2 separate regions of the Homo sapiens genome follow, and region 2 is linked to region 1. Evidence: promoter capture Hi-C in human tissues and cell types (Jung and others, 2019). All regions are on one chromosome and are shown on one strand. Each heading gives the region's core, a stretch centred on a gene start or on the middle of the fragment in contact. The rest is flanking DNA. Distances are from core to core; before and after follow the strand shown. Region 1 holds the start of DSG4 (desmoglein 4). Region 2 has its middle 27 kb from the start of DSG1.

The links. The method cuts DNA at HindIII sites, captures the fragments that hold promoters and counts their contacts. A contact is called where the count stands out against the background at its distance.
Region 2: a contact is called between a fragment that was not itself captured here and the fragment with the promoter of DSG4 in region 1, in 2 of the 25 tissues and cell types used here (heart left ventricle and small bowel).

The regions. Positions count from the first base shown.
Region 1 is chr18:31,374,946-31,378,991 of GRCh38, reverse strand. DSG4 (desmoglein 4) reads right to left here and starts at 2,215. Exons shown (of 16, transcript NM_177986.5): 1 at 2,033-2,215. The coding sequence starts at 2,080. The region is part of intron 1 of DSG1-AS1 (DSG1 antisense RNA 1); the gene reads left to right. The HindIII fragment of the contact is 6,705 bases long and covers 1-4,046 here.
Region 2 is chr18:31,288,719-31,292,676 of GRCh38, reverse strand. No RefSeq gene overlaps it. Among named protein-coding and RNA genes, the nearest start is that of DSG1, 27 kb to the left of the region's middle. The HindIII fragment of the contact is 4,429 bases long and covers 1-3,799 here.

The DNA of each region.
Region 1 (4,046 bases), core at 966-3,465:
ACAAAGTACCTGTGAGTCTCTGAGAGGCTGCCACACCCTCATTAGTGTAAGCTGCAATGATGCCCCAGAGAGTCTTTGATTTAGTTAATGAAGAAGGGGCAGAGTTCAAGTTCAGGAAATTAAAGAGAAGTAGGCATGTCTACTTTCCTATAATATCTATAACATCTCATTGATTCTCCTTAAACAATTCTTGTATTTGTTTCAATTTTGAAATATGCCAGAAGTCTCTACCTCCCAATTCCAGACACTATTAATTGATATGGTAAGGGATCTTTTAGACAAGCATAAAGAAAAAAAATACTTAAAGAACTTTTTCACAATTACCGTGAAATGTCAAACACAAAGACTTCAATATCAATGAGGAGTAGGAGGAATTAAGTATTAAAAACGCTAGTATTACCAAGGAAAATAAATAAATACTACCAAAAAAAGATCCTGAGAGTCTGAAGTATAATACTCTTTCAAGATCAAGGAGAAGAATCAACTCTTCAATTAAATAATATTATCATAAATCATGCCTGTGCAGAAGGCAATGGGAGGCAAGATTTAGTGCTCAGAAGTGGCCTCTAAAATCTTGACACATACAATTTTCCTTACAGAAAACCAAAAGTTTATCTGAGTCAAAGCATGAATATACTCGGTAGAAGAGTAACAAGAGGTATATCCTCATAACTTACTATTTCAATTGAAGACCAAGTCCGATTCTTGCCTCTTCTTTTAGTAACATTTATTTTATTTAGTAAATAAATAATGATCATTGTAACAGAATATTGCCCTTCGTCTTATGTTTTTAAGTTTAAAAATATTTTTCAAAAATGGTATTGTTTAATAATCTGTCTCCTAAACTCAGAGGATGCAATATTCTACCACTGTTGTCACGTTCCCTTTTGAGCTTGGGGTTGTGTGCCCTTTGGCAGTGTTCGGCTCCCGCACTGCTCTTGAAGTTTAGAAATGTGAATTCCAGAAGAGTAGCTCTCACTGTGCCTCTTGGACAATGACGTGCTCCCATCTCTCCCAGCCCTAGCTACTCTCTGTCTCTTACAACTGATGTTCAGAGGAGTCTGGTATAATTGCCACTTGCCTAAGAATAGGATGGGAATCACTTTCTAAGCTTAGGTTGTAGCGCTAACCTGGATACTCCTGGGAGATTGAAGTGTGGCCAACTATAATGCATTTGTCTTAATTTACTTTGAAAAATTTGTACAGTTCCTAATAATCCTGTCCTCTTACCCTCCCAGAATTGGCAATAGTTTGTTGATTGGCCAACTGGAACTTTGTTCTTCTTTGGAGTTGGAATTATCTCTTTCTAGGGTAGGATATTTGCTATGCATGCTGCCTGTCTGGAAATCATGTCACACCTTGGGCACCCAAAGGTTAGAGGAAAGAAATATAATATCCAAGATGCCATGTTTACTGTAAAGAAATAAGTCATTTAAATATTTCTTTGCTGGTCTGTAGGAATGCATTCATAATTCCAGAAAAGTTTTGTCTTGATGGCTGGGCTTCATTTTTCTTTAGCAATATCTGACTGGAAAAAGTTCTCATGACTTTAGTATGTCATCATTAGTTGCAATGTAATTTCAACATGGCTATCATTCCTCCACTTTGAAAGAAACTCATAGGGAAATAACTATTGAAAAGAAATGGGTTTGATTAACTTCCCTTCAAATTTAGAACCCATTTGCACTGGCAGTTTTCACAGCAATCTATCTGATTTATTTATATGATCATAGAATATGAATTTTATTTCCAATTTAAAATTTTAGAATAGTCCTAACACTCAAAGTGAAGTAGATTATGTCTCTGAGGGCATATAAATTTAATTCAGCCAGATTCTCACCCCGCTTCTCTATGGCATTTTGTTCCTCAAGGCGGAGAGAGTTGTTTGAAATTAACAGAGGCTGGACTTCTAGAACTCTCTTTGCAGGAAGGAGATTAAAAATGGAATAAATCCCATGTAGAAAGCCCGACAGTTGACAGAGACAAGACCTTGAGGCTGCATTTCCTTCCCACCTCTTTAAATTCTACTTACCATTAGAATGATCAAAAGGCAAATGTTTCTGAAGAAGAGCCAATCCATTCCTTTGGGTTTCTCTTGCACGCAAATCCTGTGAGATTCAATTTGAGCCCTCGTCTTCTCAGTTCCGAATTCTGCTCTACAGAAAGATATGCTTTGAGACACCCTTTTAGGAGGGCATGGGTGATAACTGTGGTGATCTCTGGGCAGAGAGATGAAGATATTCTATAATGACTGTTTCCCCACCCCAAACTCCCAGGCTGGTCTGGAAGACTGGCATTGTTTGGGCTCTGGGTAAGAATTTAGACACACCTTGATTCTTATTGCAATGAAACCCTTTGTTGGACACCAAAGAAAAACCTTACAGAGCGAGGACAAGATTTACAGGGAAGATAGCCAGTGAATAATAAATTACTCACAACATAAAAAATAATTAAAATGCTAGGGCCTATCATCATGCTGAATAAAATTAGAAGGCTTCTTCTTACTGCCAACATTGTAAAAGCAAAATTACATATACTGACAACACATACACACACATGTCCACTGCAGAACCCACTTCAAGGAATGATACTTTTAGCAGAGGCCATTGTTGAAAGTCATCAGGACTCAAGTATGGTATAGGAAGAAAGATAGAATAATGACGCTCATTTCAATTCAGTTGAGTCCTGCTTCTCTCTTTAAAATGTCTTGTGGTTGAACCGCACTCTCAATTTTAAAGATTTTCTGAAATAACAAAGTTAAGATGAAGGAACTCTGATTTAACTAGTACCAGTATGTTTGTTTCCATACTTTGGCATTTTCTTTCTTGATTATTCAGTCAAACCTCTACAATATGATATTTACAAAATCATTTTAAAGTAACTACAATACAACATTCTCACTTCTCATAGTATTACCACTGATAAAAAGTACATAATGTGGGTGAGGAACACATTTTACACCACCACAAATATTTATTAAGGAGAAACTGAAGTTGGAAACGTGAGAATTTAATGAAAAAAAGCCCAGAGTGGGATCTGGATATTTTTGAATATTATTTCCCTTTTTCGTGTCTCCCTTTTCCTTTGTTAGTATGGGTTTGAAACAGGGTATAGAGTGTCCTGATGCAAACATTGCAGGCTGGCAGCAACATCAATAAACTTAAAAGAAAATGCAGTTAACTGTTCTCTGATTGATAGATAATACATGTTGGTTGGAGAATTTCAAAGGGAGACTGCCTCCTGTCTTCACTATCCCATCACTGTAATTCAGAAACAAGGTTGACCCTGGTAATAGAATGTATTCTAAGTATTGCTTAGTTTCTTGAGAAAAGTAGTTTTAGTATTTTTGGAAGCCAGATAAAGTAATTTACTTTTGCATTATTTCATGTCATGTTGAATTAGATAATTTAATTTGCCTAAGAGAATTAATGAAACAACTCCAGGTCTTTAAGTGACATTGCTTTTTACAAGGGAAAAACAACATTCTTCTCTATTGTTGTGTTTGAAGGAGATATTTCACAAAGGTCTCTATCTTTTGTTTACACTATAGATGATTTCTTCTACATATAAGATTTTTCTTATATTTTCTTCTAAATATAAGATTTTCTATCTACTTGAATGCTATTTATAGGATGAGTTTTAAAGAAAAGAAACAGGAAGCAATAGAAATAGGTACTAGATCATTTATGTGGGTACCTCTAGCTTTCTCCATTTGAAACTCCTGATTTCAATGGTATCCAGAATTTGAATCCAGATTATAATTATGAACATATTTAAAAGATTCTTCAGTAACTAAGGAGGAACTACCTGAAGCCCCATCATTTCATTTCTGTTTACTCCTTGGAGATTTGTGGGAATGATCTTTTGCTTTAAAGTTTTTTTTGGAGACAGAGTCTTGCTCTGCTTCTCAGGCTGGAGTGCAGTAGTGGTCTGAGTGCAGCTCACGGCAACCTCTGCCTCCTGAGTTCAAGTGATCCTCCCACCTCAGCCTCTCAAGTACTTGGGTTTACAGGTGCATGTCACCACACTTGGTTAATTTTAAAAAT
Region 2 (3,958 bases), core at 336-2,835, 86 kb after region 1:
TAAAATATTTCAAAGGTTACTAGAGGGAAATAAATAAAATGATATCAATTCTTTCATTTTAGAACTTCTAAAGCATTTCTTTTTCAAGGATATCTCTTTTAGCATTTAGTAATTTCAATGAATAAATATGTAACTACATAAATTGTATTCTTTCCTTTTGTAGCTTCTCTTAAAATGCAAGATCTAGTAACTTGCAGGAAGTATGAATCTAAATGTAGTGAAGTCTCCCTTTCTTTGACCCAGATTTATGCCTCCAGGTTCAGTAGGTATGGGATGAGCCACCAGCAATTCAGGTATGCATGAGAGAATGATGAGCTACCCAGAAGACAATCTTATATATCTCATAGGGGAAAAGAGTCAGGTAGACAAGTTTGGTCCAGGAAACAAAAGATTGGTTGCCCTAGAGGAAAAAACAACCATGAATATACCATGTTGTCCATAATACACATTTATCTCTTGACCTCAATGTATGCTGAGGTGCTGAACGTAAGACTGAAATGACATAAGATCCTTTCCAGACAAGCAAATACTGAGGGAATTTGTCACTACCAGACCTGCTTTTTAAGAGCTCCTGAAGGAAGCATTAAATTTGGAAAGGAAAAACCATTACTGGCCACTACAAAAACACACTGAAATACACAGACCAGTGACACTATGAAGCAACTGCATAAAAAAGTCTACAAAATAACCAACTAGCATTATTTGATCCAACAGGATCAAATTCACAAGTAACAATACTAATCTTAAATGTCCATGGGCTATATGCCTCAATTAAAAGACACAGAATGACAAGCTGGATAAAGAGCCAAGACCCATCAGCATGCTGTCTTCAAGAGACCAATTTCACATGTGAAGACACACATAGGCCTAAAATAAAGAAATGGAGGAAAATTTGCCAAGCAAATTGAAAACAGAAAAAGTAGGGGTCAGAATCCCACTTTCTGACAAAATAGATTTTAAACCAACAAAGATCAAAAAAGACAAAGAAGGGTGTTACATAATGGCAAAAGGTTCAATTCAACAAGATCTAACTATCCTGAATATATATGCACCAAATACAAGAGCAACCAGATTTATAAAACAGTTCTTAGAGACCTTCAAAGAGACTTAGATTCTCACAAAATAATAGTGGGAGACTTTAACACCCCACTGACAATATTTGACAGATCACTGAGACAGAAAATTAGTAAAGATATTCAGGACCTGATCTCAGCTCTAGACCAAGTGGACCTGATAGATATCTACAAAACTCTCCACCCCAAAACAACAGAATATACATTATTCTCATCGTCACATGGCATTTACTCTAAAATTGGTTATATAATTGGAAGTGAAACACTTCTCAGGAAATGCAAAATAACCAAAATCATAACAAACAGTCTCTCAGACCACAGCACCATCAAATTAGAACTCAAGATTAAGAAATTCAGTCAAAACCACACAACTACATGGAAGTTAAACAACCTGCTCCTGAATGACTCCTGGATAAATAATGAAACTGAGGCAGAAATCAAGAAGTTCTTTGAAACTAATGAAAACAAAGAGACAATGTACCAAAGATCTCTGGGATGCAGCTAAAGCAGTGTTAAGAGGGAAATCTATAGCACTAAATGCCCACATCAAAAAGCTAGAAAGATCTCAAGTTAACAACCTAACATCACAACTAAAAGAACTAGATAACCAAGAGCAAACAATCCCAAAGCTAACAGAAGACAAGAAATAACCAAGATCAGGGCTAAACTGAAGAAGATAAAGACAAAAAAAAAAAAACACCCTTCAAAATGTCAACAAATCCAGAAGATTTTTTTTTGAAAAAATTGATAAAATAGACCACTAGCTAAACTAATAAAGAAGAAAAGAAAGAATCAAATAAATACAATCAGACTTGATAAGGGGGAAATCACCACTGACCCCACAGAAATACAAGTAACCATTAGGAAATACTATAAACACCTCTATGCACATAAACTAGAAAATCTAGAAGAAATGGATAAATTCCTGGACACATACACCCTCCAAAGATTGAAGCAGGAAGAAATTGAATCCTCAAATATACCCATAATGAATTTTGAAATTAAGGCAGTAATAAATACCCAACTAACCAAAAAAAAAAAAAAAAAAAATAGCCAGGACCAGACAGATTCACAGCTGAATTCTACCAGAAGTACAAAAAAGAGCTGGTATCATTTCTACTGAAACTATTCAAAAACATTGAAAAGGAGGGACTCCTTCTCAACTCATTCTATGAGGCCAGCATTATCTGATACCAAAACCTGGCGGAGATACAACAAAAAAAGAAAGCTTCAGGCCAATATCCCTGATGAACATAAGTGTAGAAATTCTCAGTAAAATATTGACAAACTGAATCCGGCAGAGCATCAGAAAGCTTATCCACCATGATCAAGTTGGCTTCACCCCCAGGATGTAAGGTTGGCTCAACATATGCAAATGAACAAATGTGATTCATCACATAAGCTGCACTAAAGACAAACACCACATAATAATTTCAATTGATGGAGAAAGGTCTTTGATAAGATTCGACATCCCTTCATGTTAAAAACTCTCAATAAACTAGGTATTGAAGGAATACACTTCAAAATAATAAGAGCCATATATGGCAAACCCACAGCCAATATCAAACTGAATGGGCAAAAGCTGGAAGCATTCCCCTTGAAAACTGGCACAGGACAAGAATGCCCTCTCTTACCAATCCTATTCAACACAGTATTGGAGTTTCTGGCAGGGTAATTGTCAGGCCTCTGAGCCCAAGCTAAGCCATCATATCCCCTGTGACCTGCACATCATATACATCCAGATGGCCTGAAGTAACTGAAGAATCACAAAAGAAGTGAAAATGGCCTGTTCCTGCCTTAACTGATGACATTACCTTGTGAAATTCCTTCTCCTGGCTCATCCTGGCTCAAAAGGTCCCCCACTGAGTACCTTGTGACCCCCACCCCTTCCAGCCAGAGAACATCCCCCTTTGACTGTAATTTTCCACTACCTACCCAAATCCTATGAAACGGCCCCACCCCTTTCTCTCTTTGCTAACTCTCTTTTTGGACTCAGCCCACCTGAACCCAAGTGAAATAAATAGCCTTGTTGCTCACACAAAGCCTGTTTGTGGTCTCTTCACATGGACGCTTGTGAAATTTGGTGTGGTGACTCGGACTGGGGGACCTCCCTTGGGAGATCAATCCCCTGTCCTCCTGCTCTTTGCTCCATGAGAAAGATACACCTACGACCTCTGGTCCTCAGAACAACCAGCCCAAGGAACATCTCACCAATTTTAAATCGGGTAAGTGGCCTCTCTTTACTGTCTTCTCCAACTTCTCTCACTATCCCTCAACTTCTTTCTCTTTTCAATCTTGGTGTCACACTTCAATCTCCCTTCTCTGAATTTCAATTCCTTTCCTTTTCTGGTAGAGACAGAGGAGACGTGTTTTATCTGTGAACCCAAAACTCCGGCACTCGTCATGGACTCGGGAAGACAGTCTTCCCTTGGTGTTTAATCACTGTGGGGACACCTGCCTGATTATTCACCCACACTCCATTGGTGTCTGATCAGTGCGGGGATGCCTGCTTTGGTCATTCACCCACATTCCCTTGGTGGCAAGTCAATTGCGGGGATGCCTGCTCTGGCTGCTCACCCACATTGCAGCCCAGGGCTGCTCCCCACTCCTTCTCTCCATGTCCCTACCCTCTCTTTTCTCTCCACTTTCCTGGGGGGTAAGCACCCCCCACCCCTTCTCTCCATGTCTCCATGCAGCCCAGGGCTGCTCCCAATGCCTTCTCTCCATGTCTCTACCTGGAGGGTTCTTGACCCCCAGGAAAGTGGAGATAAAAGAGAGGGTAGAGACACGGAGAGAAGGGGTGCAGAGCAGCCCTGGGCTGCAATGTGGATTAGCACATTTCTCTGGGCTTGCCTCCTTCACTATAGGCAACCTTCCACCCTCCA